Linked DNA regions of Homo sapiens: region 1 is linked to region 2. Evidence: promoter capture Hi-C in 16 types of primary human blood cells and fetal thymus (Javierre and others, 2016). All regions are on one chromosome and are shown on one strand. Each heading gives the region's core, a stretch centred on a gene start or on the middle of the fragment in contact. The rest is flanking DNA. Distances are from core to core; before and after follow the strand shown.

What was found. The method cuts DNA at HindIII sites, captures the fragments that hold promoters and counts their contacts. A CHiCAGO score of 5 or more calls a contact.
Region 1: a contact is called between a fragment that was not itself captured here and the fragment with the promoter of OXA1L in region 2, in 1 of 17 cell types (total CD8 T cells). The highest score is 5.2, in total CD8 T cells.

What each region holds. Positions count from the first base shown.
Region 1 is chr14:21,825,578-21,828,457 of GRCh38, reverse strand. It overlaps TRA and TRAV10. Among named protein-coding and RNA genes, the nearest start is that of OR4E1, 150 kb to the right of the region's middle. The HindIII fragment of the contact is 3,707 bases long and covers 1-2,880 here.
Region 2 is chr14:22,765,340-22,768,241 of GRCh38, reverse strand. OXA1L (OXA1L mitochondrial inner membrane insertase) reads right to left here and starts at 1,554. Exons shown (of 10, transcript NM_005015.5): 1 at 1,478-1,554; 2 at 833-994; 3 at 71-284. The coding sequence starts at 1,540. It overlaps OXA1L-DT (OXA1L divergent transcript), which reads left to right and starts at 1,680. Exons shown (of 3, transcript XR_001750638.3): 1 at 1,680-1,818. RefSeq lists enhancers at 1,446-1,675, 1,269-1,832, 1,833-2,395, 2,396-2,902. The HindIII fragment of the contact is 1,636 bases long and covers 428-2,063 here.

The sequences.
Region 1 (2,880 bases), core at 73-2,572, 940 kb after region 2:
CCCAAGATATTCCTGTAAAAGAAAGTGAACGCAATAGACAAACATAGACTCAAGCCTCGTAATGGAAGGTCTTTTGTGTCTGCATTTATCTATTTTGTTTATTACCCTACTCCTTCTACCTACAAAAACACCTGTCACTTATTATTTGTTTTTTATTTCGTTTTGTTTTGTTTGAGACAGACTCTCATTCCATCGCCCAGGCTGGAGTGCAGATGTGCAATCACAGCTCACTGCAACCTCCGCCTCCTGGGTTCAAGATATTCTCCTGCCTCAGCCTCCCTAGTAGCTGGGATTACAGGTGCATGCCACCATGCCTGGCTAATTTTTGTATTTTTAGTAGAGACAGGGTTTCTTCATGTTGGCCAGGCTGGTCTCGAATGCCTGACTTCAAGTGATTCGCCCACCTTGGCCTCCCAAAGTGCTGGGATTACAAGCATGAGCCACGGCACCTGGCCTCATTATTTGTTTAATAAATAATTGTGTAATGAACAAATTCAATGTGTGTCTCTCCTTCAAGACCTAACTAAATTTGCTATTCCCCATGATACTTTCTCCTATCTTTTCTGTCCCACAGTAATCTCCTCCTGAGAATACCTTTAAAACTTATTTGTCCACGTACTTGGAATTTTACCTATTGATTCCATTTTCATGTATTTTATCTTTTTCCTCAATTAGTTTATGATTACTCACACAAGTCTGCTGTAGCAGCAATCTGAACTTTAATTTCTTCACTCTAAAGACTTGAAAGGAGATACAGGACAGGAAAAAATATCTGATTACTGAATATATCTAGGTTTACTTTTTGCTCCAGAAGTCAAGGCATTTTGATGTCTTGACACTTGAGCTATCTCCAGACTAGTTACAAAGAACAGTCCAGGTCCTGGCTTCATTTATTCACAAATTATCAATTCACTGAACTTGGAAATGAACTTACTTGCAGTGCTCATAAGCATAACAAATCAATCTTATTCAACAATATCCTGAAATGTGTGATCATCTTTAAATATCAATTCCTGTGAGTTGATAGTGACAGATGAGATGCATTCCTTTAAATTTTTTAAGACATTTGTTATTTTTTAATAATCTTTATTTTGACAGAAGAAAAATCCGAGAACTATAGAAAATTAAAAGTACAGAAGACAAGGAAAGATAAAAAGTAAAAACATTATATTCCCACAATACAAGGATTACCATTTTTAATATCTTAGTATATATTCTTCCCATTTTTTTACAGTTGATATCTGCCTTTTAAATAAGTACTTTTCTCATCTAATTCTCAAATTATATGTACATTTCTCTAATTGTCCCAAAAAGAACTTCACAGCTAAGTTGTGAAAACCAGAGTTCACAATTGCAGGTAGGCATTCTGTCCCTAAGTCTCTTTTCTAGAACACTGATGGTTGAAAAGCCTGGCACAGTTGTTCTGCTGCCTGAGAGTGACTGTGTCTGCCAGGATCCCCTGGCCTTCCAGTGTCCTCTAAAGGAGCAGTGATGGAAGATAATAAAGAGTTGATGCAGCACCTGGACAAAAGCCTTGATCTGGAGCATAGCTAAATGGGAAGAGCAGATTTATTCTCACAGGATGCTTTCTGAGAACTTGAATAGCCATGAAATGACAACTGAATGTCTTTCAGGGGAAGGAAACTTCTCAAGATATTTCCGGCCAGGAGCAGTGGCTCACGCCTGTAATCCCAGCACTTTGGGAGGCCAAGATGGGTGGATCACGAGGTCAGGAGATCGAGACCATCCTGGCTAACACGGTGAAACCCCATCTCTACTAAAAATACAAAAAAATTAGCCGGGCGTGGTGGTGGGCGCCTGTAGTCCCAGCTACTCAGGAGGCTGAAGCAGGAGAATGGCATGAACCCGGGAGGTGGAGCTTGCAGTGAGCCGAAATCACGCCACTGCACTCCAGCCTGGGCGACTGAGTGAGACTCCATCTCAAAAAAAAAAAAAAAAAAAAAAAAAAATTTCCATCAGCCACATAAACTTGTTGCTCTTTCACTTAGTTGACATTCTGCTGGTAGGTGTCCAGATCAAAAACCAAGCTAGTCTCTCCCTTCCAAACAACACTGTCATCTACTTCAGCAATAGTAACACAGCATGACAGACTGTCTTGCCCTTGGGAACACCCAGATGTAGCAATTAACTTTGTGTGTTGAGTGAGAATGTCTTTATCCTCGCTTGAGGACATGTATTCTACTTGAGCCTAAGTAGAACTTTAGGCTCAAGCTCAAATCAAATCATGTCGGAGAGATAAATATTCACTAGTGAAATCATATTCTGCATAAAAAATAACGGTCTACTCTAACTCCTATGCCTCCTTGATAACCTCCAGGTGCAGGTTTGCATACTGGCTTCAAGTGCCTGTGGAGCACAGTGCGCTCACCACACAGATGTAGGAGGCTGAATCGCTGAGCTGGGAGGCTGTGATGTGCAGAGAGCTTTGCTTTGTGTCTGCATCCAGAGTTGCTGTATATCTTCCGTTCGACTTTGTGTTCTCACTGAAAGTCATGATTGTCAGGGAAACAGGACCTCTCCCCGTATCTTGCTTATACCACCTTAAGTTGCTGAAGGGGCTCACTGTATAATTGCATTGAAGAGTGCAGTTCTTTCCCTCCAGGATGATCAGGGACTGAGGACTCTGCTCCACTTGGTTTTTGCCATTCCCCCCTATTCAGAAAGAAAAGTGAGATTCAAGAGATCCATCATCCAGTATTAATACTGTCTAATTTGCATCCCTTCCTTACTCCCCACAATGAATCCCAAGTGAAACAGAAAATGGTCCCATTTTCTCCCTTCCTCCTATCCCAGTGGACTACATCTTCACCCCAAATCCTAAGAAAATATTCCCTTGACTTACTATGTTAACTTTGCTAA
Region 2 (2,902 bases), core at 305-2,804:
GAATCCATTCAAAGAATTGCCATCTATGAGGTTAAATCCCTAACCCATGTCCAGGGTATATTCCCCTTACATGCAGCAATGGCCCCCCACCAAGGTAGGCCCAGATCAACATGCATAAATTCCAGTAAATTCTGGATCAGTCCCACTGGGGTGTATGACCCCAGCCCCAGTTCAGCGAAGCTCTGCTCTGCAGCAGTTTGGACTACATCTGCAGTCTCTCCAGAAGCCACCTCAGGTACTGCTGTGGGTGAGGGAGTTGCAGCAACAACAGGAGGGGCCTGAACCTGTGTGAAAGAAAGCCTTGTATTATATTTATTCAGTAGCGAACACAAAGCAAGTGAGATCTTTTTATAATAACCAGTACTGGGTTCTGTTCTCTCTACTTCTTGTTCTTCCAGGTTAGCCTAGTGTCTGCAGATTTCAAGCTTAAAAAGGACATCTCATTTTTATCAATAGTTAGGAAGAGAAGTTACTTTGAGTAAGAATCCATGACTTCCCTTCATGCTGGGAAGTTATTTCTTTTATCACTGTTTTCCAAACTTCAGCCATTTGAATATCACTATCATGATTTTTGCCATATATTAACATGAAACAATTGCTTTTCTTTAAAACAGCTCAGAAAACCAAATATAACATCTCTCCTGTTGTACTTTCAATCATTTCCCCACTGAATTGAAAATCCATCCTAAGCAGAGATGCTATCATTTTGGAGAGCTGTGTGGAGCGTGGACAAGAACTCTGCTCCATATTCCCCCTGCTCCCAAACAAAACAAAATATGAAACCAACCAGGAAACACCACTCCTAATATTGCAGGAACGAAAGGCCTCTTACCTGGACTTCTGCAAAAGAGATAGCAGAGGTACTGAGGCTGCGGGGGCCGGAAGCCGCAAGGAAGAGGTAGTGTGGGCGACAGCAGCACGGGGCTGCTGGGAATAGGAGCCGTGTGGTCAGCGGTTTCCCAAGCCATTGCGAGGGCCCTGCGACGCTGTGGACCTGAGCGTGTAAAAGGATGATGGAGCCCCTTTACCGGGAGCAGAAGTCCTCGCGTGGGTGCAAACGGGATTCATTATGCTAACTCCCCAAGAAGCAGGCAGCTCGGCCACTACAGGGGAGGACATTGCTATCACCGCGCGCAGACCGCTAGCCCGAAGGCATGCAGCGGGTGGTGCCTGCAGAGCGAAGCTCGAACCTGGGTTCCCCGCATCTCAGTTATCGCAGACCCACATCGGAGGGCCCTGAGAACGAGGCCGAGGTGCTCTCGCCAGGAGCCAAGCCAATTCCAGAAGCTGACACCGGGCTGCTGGGCCCATAGTGTCGGGGACTAACCCTAGCGCGTCCTCACATGACCCGAGGTCATGACATTCAGGTCCCGGTGAGCAGGTCAGCGTCTGCTGATACCCCTAGCACGAGCTGTCCTGGGGCCTGGTTCACTGGGTCAGGGCAGCATCCCGGTGCTCTGCCCCGGGGCATCCTTACCCGACGCCCGGACTGTAGCAAGCGCAGAAGCTCCCGGCGTCCGCACATTAGTCCCATCGCCATTTTGCCCGGAAGAGGACTTGCTTTTGCGCCTGCGCAGTAAGAACCACAACCCCTCGAGAGGAAGCACTTTTGGAGGCGGGCATGAAGCCAGAATTGTAGCCGCAGATCAGGCGGTAAAAGAGAACGGAGCTTGGCGGCCATATTTGAAGTGGGTAAAAATCTGTAAAGCCACGTTACCATTAGCACGCAGAGAGCCTTTTCTGGAGATTGAAAGGAAGTTGAAGAGCTGGGTTAGCTATCATCGTAAGCTATCATCGTTAGTGATGGCGTAAACCTGGGTAATTTTCCTCTAATGTCGCGATTGTCCTCTGATTTGTAAGTTTAAAAATAGCCTCAGAAAAGGCTTGGCTGTACTTGCAGAGGATTTTTCCCACTCAATGATGTTCGATTCTTTTGATTCTTATTGCTAGGTAATATTGTAATCGCAGGTCCAGTGAAATTTGAGGGTAGTCTAGAGTCTGACAGAAATTAAAAGAAGGCAGCTTCTGGGAAATATTTTCCTCCCAGATAAAAAGACGAAGCTTCCAGAGGAGACTTCACCTTTCCATTTTTTTCTTCTGTAAGTGGGGTGGTGTGAGGACTGACCATGAGGGGACAAGTTTCCAGATGAAAAGCTCACGTGCAGGCCGGGCGCGGTGGCTCAGGTCTGTAATCCCAGTACTTTGGGAGGCCGAGGTGGGTGGATCACGAGATCAGGAGGTCGAGACCATCCTGGCCAACATGGTGAAACCCCATTTCTACTAAAAATACAAAAATTAGCCGGGCGTGGTGGTGGGCGCCTGTAATCCCAGCTACTCGGGAGGCTGAGGCAGGAGAATCACTTGAACCCGGGATGCAGAGGTTGCAGTGAGCCGGGATTGTGCCACTGCACTCCAGCCTGGGCAACAAGAGCGAGACTCCGTCTCAAAAAAAAAAAAAAAAAGGAAAGAAAAACTCACGTGCTGAAGATGGTTGAGGGCAAAGATAGAAAACACCCAAATACTTGATGATATCATTGAGCTGCTGTACCATGCTTGGAACTGCCTATCTCCAGACTTTGTTGTGTAAGTTAATTAAAGGTCTTGGCCGGGTGCAGTGGCTCATACCTGTAATCTCATCACTTTGGGAGGCTGAGGTGGTCTCGATAACTAGGTCAAGAGATCGAGACCAGCCTGGCCAACATGGTGAAATCCTGTCTCTACTAAAAATACAAAAAACAAAAAAACAAAATAACTAGGCGGGCGTGGTGGTGCATACCTGTAGTCCCAGCTACTAGGGAGGCTGAGGCAGGAGAATCGCTTGAATCCGGGAGGTGGAGGTTGCAGTGAGCCGAGGTGGAGCCACCTCACTCTAGCCTGGGCGACAGACTCCATCTCAAAAAAA